2 separate regions of the Homo sapiens genome follow, and region 2 is linked to region 1. The links are contacts of gene promoters, found by promoter capture Hi-C in human tissues and cell types (Jung and others, 2019). All regions are on one chromosome and are shown on one strand. Each heading gives the region's core, a stretch centred on a gene start or on the middle of the fragment in contact. The rest is flanking DNA. Distances are from core to core; before and after follow the strand shown. Region 1 holds the start of PRDM6 (PR/SET domain 6). Region 2 overlaps PRDM6 (PR/SET domain 6).

Evidence for each region. The method cuts DNA at HindIII sites, captures the fragments that hold promoters and counts their contacts. A contact is called where the count stands out against the background at its distance.
Region 2: a contact is called between a fragment that was not itself captured here and the fragment with the promoter of PRDM6 in region 1, in 3 of the 25 tissues and cell types used here (aorta, ovary and pancreas).

The regions. Positions count from the first base shown.
Region 1 is chr5:123,087,890-123,090,612 of GRCh38, reverse strand. It overlaps PRDM6 (PR/SET domain 6), which reads right to left and starts at 1,372. Exons shown (of 8, transcript NM_001136239.4): 1 at 1,094-1,372; 2 at 7-613. The coding sequence starts at 598. It overlaps PRDM6-AS1 (PRDM6 antisense RNA 1), which reads left to right and starts at 297. Exons shown (of 2, transcript NR_146771.1): 1 at 297-541; 2 at 2,674-2,723. RefSeq lists enhancers at 1,633-2,177, 2,178-2,722. The HindIII fragment of the contact is 7,641 bases long and covers 1-2,723 here.
Region 2 is chr5:123,132,021-123,134,743 of GRCh38, reverse strand. The region is part of intron 3 of PRDM6 (PR/SET domain 6); the gene reads right to left. Among named protein-coding and RNA genes, the nearest start is that of PRDM6-AS1, 43 kb to the right of the region's middle. The HindIII fragment of the contact is 9,966 bases long and covers 1-2,723 here.

The sequences.
Region 1 (2,723 bases), core at 123-2,622:
ACGTACGGTTGTTGGGGTCGCTGGTGTGCTGGTTGAGCGGGATGATCTCCATGCGCTGCTGGCCATACAGGTAATAGTCCAGCTCCTCTGCGCTGCAGCGGAAGCGCGGGGCGCCGCGACCCTCCCCGCCGCCGCCGCCACCACCACCGCACTTGACGGGCCCGGGGCCGGAGGTGGCGCCGAGGCACAGTTCCTTGGGGGGCAGCGGCTCGGCGGCGACGGCAGCGGCGGCTAGAGGCGCGAACACCGGCAGCTGCGACACCGGCAGGGCCGAGAGACCAGCCAGCGCGGCGGCAGCGGCCGCAGCAGCGCAGGAGGAGGCGGAGGAGGCGGAGGTGGAAGAGGAAGCCGGCGTGGACGAGGCGGAGGAGAGAGAGGCGGGCCGCGGGCGCAGGCTGTCCGGCGGAGGCTCAGCGCGCTCCGGGGGCGGGGGCGGCGGCGGCGGCTGAAGAGGCTGCGGCGCGCTCAGGAGACCCGCGGCGCCGCTGCCCTTGAGCGGGCCTGCGCCTCCGTGAGGGAAGAGTTGCTGCCAGTGCTGCAGGTAGGCTGGGTCCACTTTGAGGAAGGCCGAACCGCCGGGGTCTCCGGGCTTCAGCATGTCCGGCGCCTCGAACTGGGGGCAGAGGGCAGGGAAGAGGGGGCGCGTGAGCTGGGCGAAAGGGGCCGGGAAGAGGGCCACTGGGACCCTGGAGAAAGTGCCCGAGCCGGTGGTTCAGCCGGCGGCCGCCCGGTTCCGCGGCTCCCTCTTCCCAACTCCGCTTGGGCGCAAAGTTTACTCCGAAGCTGCGGCGCCGCACAGAGGGAGCTGTGTGCACCCTGCTCTGCCTCCCCGATCGCAGCGTCCAGCTCCCATCCAGCAATGCTGGGGCCCGACAGGAGGGCGCTGCCCCGTAGAACTCGGCTGCAGGACGCAGCCCCCGCCCTCAGCCAGCGCCCGGAGCCGACCCGAGCCGGCGTGGCGCAGCGCCCGAGCCGCGTTGGCCTCAGGCGCCAGGAGGCAGAACAGTCTCGCCGCCCGCCCCCAACCTAGGACCACCAACCTTCCTATCTACCAAGCCCTAGACTCTTAAGTCCCAGACCAGCCTCACCTTACCTGAAAACTCGGTGCTGCCGGTGGGTGCGTGCGGGTGTCTCGGTGAGCGTGCGGGTGCGCGAGAGTGTGCGCCCTGCGTGCGCTACATGCCCCTGAGCAGCGCGGGAGGAGAGTCCTAGAGATTGTGCCGCCCGGAAACCTCCCGACCTGCAAGCGAGAAAATTGGGAGGCCCGCGGAGGGCGCGAGAGTGCGGACGGACCTGGGCGCCCGACTCAACCGCCGTGGGCTGCTGCGCTTGGCCGCTGCCGCGTCCTGGCTCCTTGGTTCCACGCTCTGGCAGCTTCCCGGCTGGACACGTGGGTTTTACGACAGCACAAAATAGAGTGAGTGTGTGTGTGTGTGTGTGTGTGTGTGTGTGTGTGTGTGTGTGTGTGTGTGTGTGTGTGTGTGTGAGAGAGAGAGAGAGAGAGAGAGAGAGAGAGAGAGAGAGAGAGAGAGAGAACGGAGGGGGGAGGGGAGGCAGGCCAGAAGAAGGGGAGGGGAGAGGGAAGAAGGAAGTTCTAATTCGGCCCGACCCACATCGCCAGAGCGCCTTTCCCGCACAAACTCCTCCGCCCTCCCATCCCCTGTTTTTTTGGCGTGACGTCTGCCGCTAGCCTGTTGTCTCTTTCTGCCCATGATATGTCTTTTCTGGGTCCCAGCTCAGTGCCCTGATCTTGAAAGCAGTGGAAATGCGGCAACGGGAATGCATCTCCGCACACGCTGTGGTGTCCGCGCTGGAGCAAGCCCGCGCCGCCAGGACCGGGTTTGCGCTTTTGCCCGGCTCAGTTTTTCCTGAAGTGCTTCTGGGTGCCAGAGTCCACTCGCCCGCCACGCAACCTCTAACATAAATCCTCCGGGGAGAAAAGTTGGGGGCGGAGCGGGACGGGTTGCGCGCTGCAGTGAAACCCTCTGTCTGCAGCCCAGGAGGGAGGCTTGTCGGTGCAGGGAGGCGTAGGACCGAGGGTCCTGAGACCGAGAGCAGCTGGTCCTGGAGGGACTCAAGCTTGGCCGTGGGGCTGGGAGGCGGCTGCAATGGAGTCTGCACTCCACCCAGCGCTCTGCTGACCCCTTCTCGGGTTGTCTTCTGGAGGGCTCTTTCCCTCTCCTTCTTGGGGCCCGGAGACAAGTATCCAGTGTTACGTCTGGTGGCACAACTGCTCCGGGACACGGGCGAGGCTGTTTGCGGTCAGCTGCCTGCGGCTGCCGCAGGAGGTCACGCATAGGTTTCTCTACCCAAAACCTGGTGTTAGAGGGGCAGGGTGGGAGTGCAGCCCCACCTCCACCATGTCCTCTCCCCAGACTTTGTGCCAGGGCAGCCCTTCGATGCAGTCTCGCACCCACGAAGGAGGCACTTGCCCCCCAGCTCTTCCTGGCATTTTCGGTAGTAGATGGTAGAGGGCACAGGCAGGGTGTGTGAAATTGACCGACTCAGGAGGTACTTTCCCATCGCCGGGGTTCTGGCCATACCGTAAAGAGAAGAAACGGCATTTATCTTTTTCCAAACAACCTAACTTATTTAGCACTTGCCAATCTGAGCAATTAATAGCCATTCTTTCCTGATTTCTGCTTGTTTCTTTTTCTCTTCCCACCACTCAAGTTTTCTGAACCTGGGAAACGTGCTGTTCAGACTTCATCCGGGTCTCATTC
Region 2 (2,723 bases), core at 128-2,627, 44 kb before region 1:
AGCAGAAATCCTATATTGAAAATGATTGGTAGAGATATGAGGTTAATAATTTTTATGTCTGTTTACAGTTATTCTGGCTTAATTTCATTTAATTAAACCATTTTATGACAGACACATTAAAAAGCTCAGTTCCTTTTAAGATTAAATTAAAAAATGCCCATAAAATTAGCTTTCTGTGTGTGCTATAATTTAAAATACATAACAATTTAAATGTTTTCTAAATAGATGGGGGGATCTAACATCCAAATCTATCTTCTTATATCAATTCATATTTGGTTAACATACTGTACCAATTCCTTTCATTAAAATAAACTTATTACTTTGAAATTAACATATACAGTTTTTACTCAGTTTTTTTCTAGATGCTAGTTTGAAACACTAAAATAAAGATCTATACTGAAAAACTTAACAGACCTTTAATGCATTCACATTCTTTTCGGTGTTACATTTTTGAGCTAACATCTCTAATAACTAAGGCCGTTACCATTGTTAAGAAAAAGAGAACAAGGAACTCAAATGTAGTAATAAAATCATGCTGGGAAAAGCATTATTTAAATCCCACATTTATTTTTCAGATAAATTTCGAGTTTTTATGAGAGAAAAAGAAGTACAACTTGGCTAACAATTAGAGAAGATTATTTAGTAAAAGGACAAAGTGACTTTGAGTTGTTGGAACTATTTACACAGAAGTAACCCAAAAGTTTGTAAACTGATCTTTAACTGGCTTGATTAAAAGAGGGTAATTAATAAATGACAAGACAGAATGAAAAGTTCGTGTGGCATTTGATAAACCACCCAAGAAGTTAAATCAATGCTTTTCTTTCTGTTTAACTTCACTATTTGTTTTTCCATTTGAGCTGCCAACTTTCTAACATGCTACAGAAGGAAGAAGAGACTTTCCTTTTTTTTTTTTTGATTGATAAACATCACAGATTTTTGTTTCAAATCAACTGAACTTTTTCAAGATGATCCTTGCATTTGCTGTCACACTTGTGGTAAAGCCATTATTCCATCAAAACTCTTTAAATAGCCACCACCCCACTTTTTTCAGCTACTTTGACAAGAACACCATAACAGTTCACATCACCCTTGACCTTCAGGGTGTATATCATCTTGTCAACATATAAACAAACACACTATTGGTTGTATTTTAATAGATTTTGTAAATATCAGGATCCAATTTATCAAAAGGTTCATGCTAAGTGACAGCTCTGAAGTTCTGGATTGTATTTGCAATGCTAATTCTGACTTTTAATAAAAAAGGATATTTAGGTTGTGTTTTGCTCTTTTGTCTTTTTTTTCAGGAATGTGTAATAAGCTACTAGAAGTTTTCTTCCTTCCTATGATGGAAGCTTTCACTAACTCAATTCCAAAAGGAAAAGATTACTAGTACTATCAAAGGTAGTTATTTCTTTCAGTTGTAGGAAAAACATACGTGTTTGCATAGGAAGGATTTATATAAGATTCCTGCTTCTATCCCCTTTGCTTGGCAAAATGCATTACCTATAATAGTAAGAATACTTTCTTTTAAATGGAAAAGGAGATTATGACAGAGATAACTAACAGTATGTCTGCAATCAAGTAATTATTTCCTTTTTACTTTCATATTCACAGGCCTCTCACACTGTATGTCACTGACTTTATATCTTCTTTCCAAAACAAAATGTGTTATCAATATCAAGGTGCCCTCTCTCCTGACATAGCCTTTACTAGGGAGATAACTATTAGAATACTGTACATTTTGCAAGCTAGGAGAATTAAATGGACAAAATATACTTTTTGTCAGAGAATAGTCTTCATGATAATATTTGTTAAAGATAACATGTAAGAGTTAATCAAATTTCAACAACTGTAAAGATATAATTTCTACATCCTGGCAAAATAGGAAAAAACATCAAAAAGCTAATATATCTGGGACATAATTTTTTAAATAATTAAAACAATAATTTTTAATTTAAATGAACTAAAAACTTCCAAAACAATGATGTTAATAAAAAAGGAAGGTGCTTCTAAGCGATATTGACCTGCATATACACATATGTGTGCACAACTACAATTCTATGATGTTAGAAATCATACTTGGAAATTATCTTGTGTAGGCACACTTTTTTGAGTCTGGGCCAACCACTCAGCAGAAAACACAGATGCATTTAGCAACATTCAAGACTTCCTGAAATGTCAACACACTTGGAGAGTGCTTCACCAGAGATATGGGGATGATATACCTGCTCTTGTGAAAAACTAAACAAGGAAACCCATTAGAAAGCGCTTATAGAAAATCCAAGATTTCAAAACTTCTCTTTGATAAGTTAGAAAGAGGAAACACACACACACACACAACCACCCACATAACTTGCTGTTACTTCAACAGAGGAATTTGTTTATCCTACTTATGTGAAAATTGATAACTTTAATTTAATTACAACTAGGAATAATTCTAATTTTGAAAGGCCTAAGATGTTTCTCTACATTTATACACCCCACGTGGTAATGCATGGGATTCTTAGCACTGAAAATACTACAATATAGAAGTTTGGCTCAAGTAATAGACAAAGGAAGTTTGGAACTCTCTACATAAAAATTTTTAAGTATGACATAAAGTAGGATAGCTGTTATGAAAAGGGCACATACGTCAGAAGGGGATATGTCTAGGTTGGAAATAATAATGATAGTTAATATGCACAAGCTGCCTGCTCTGTGCCAGGCACTGTTCTAAGTGCTTT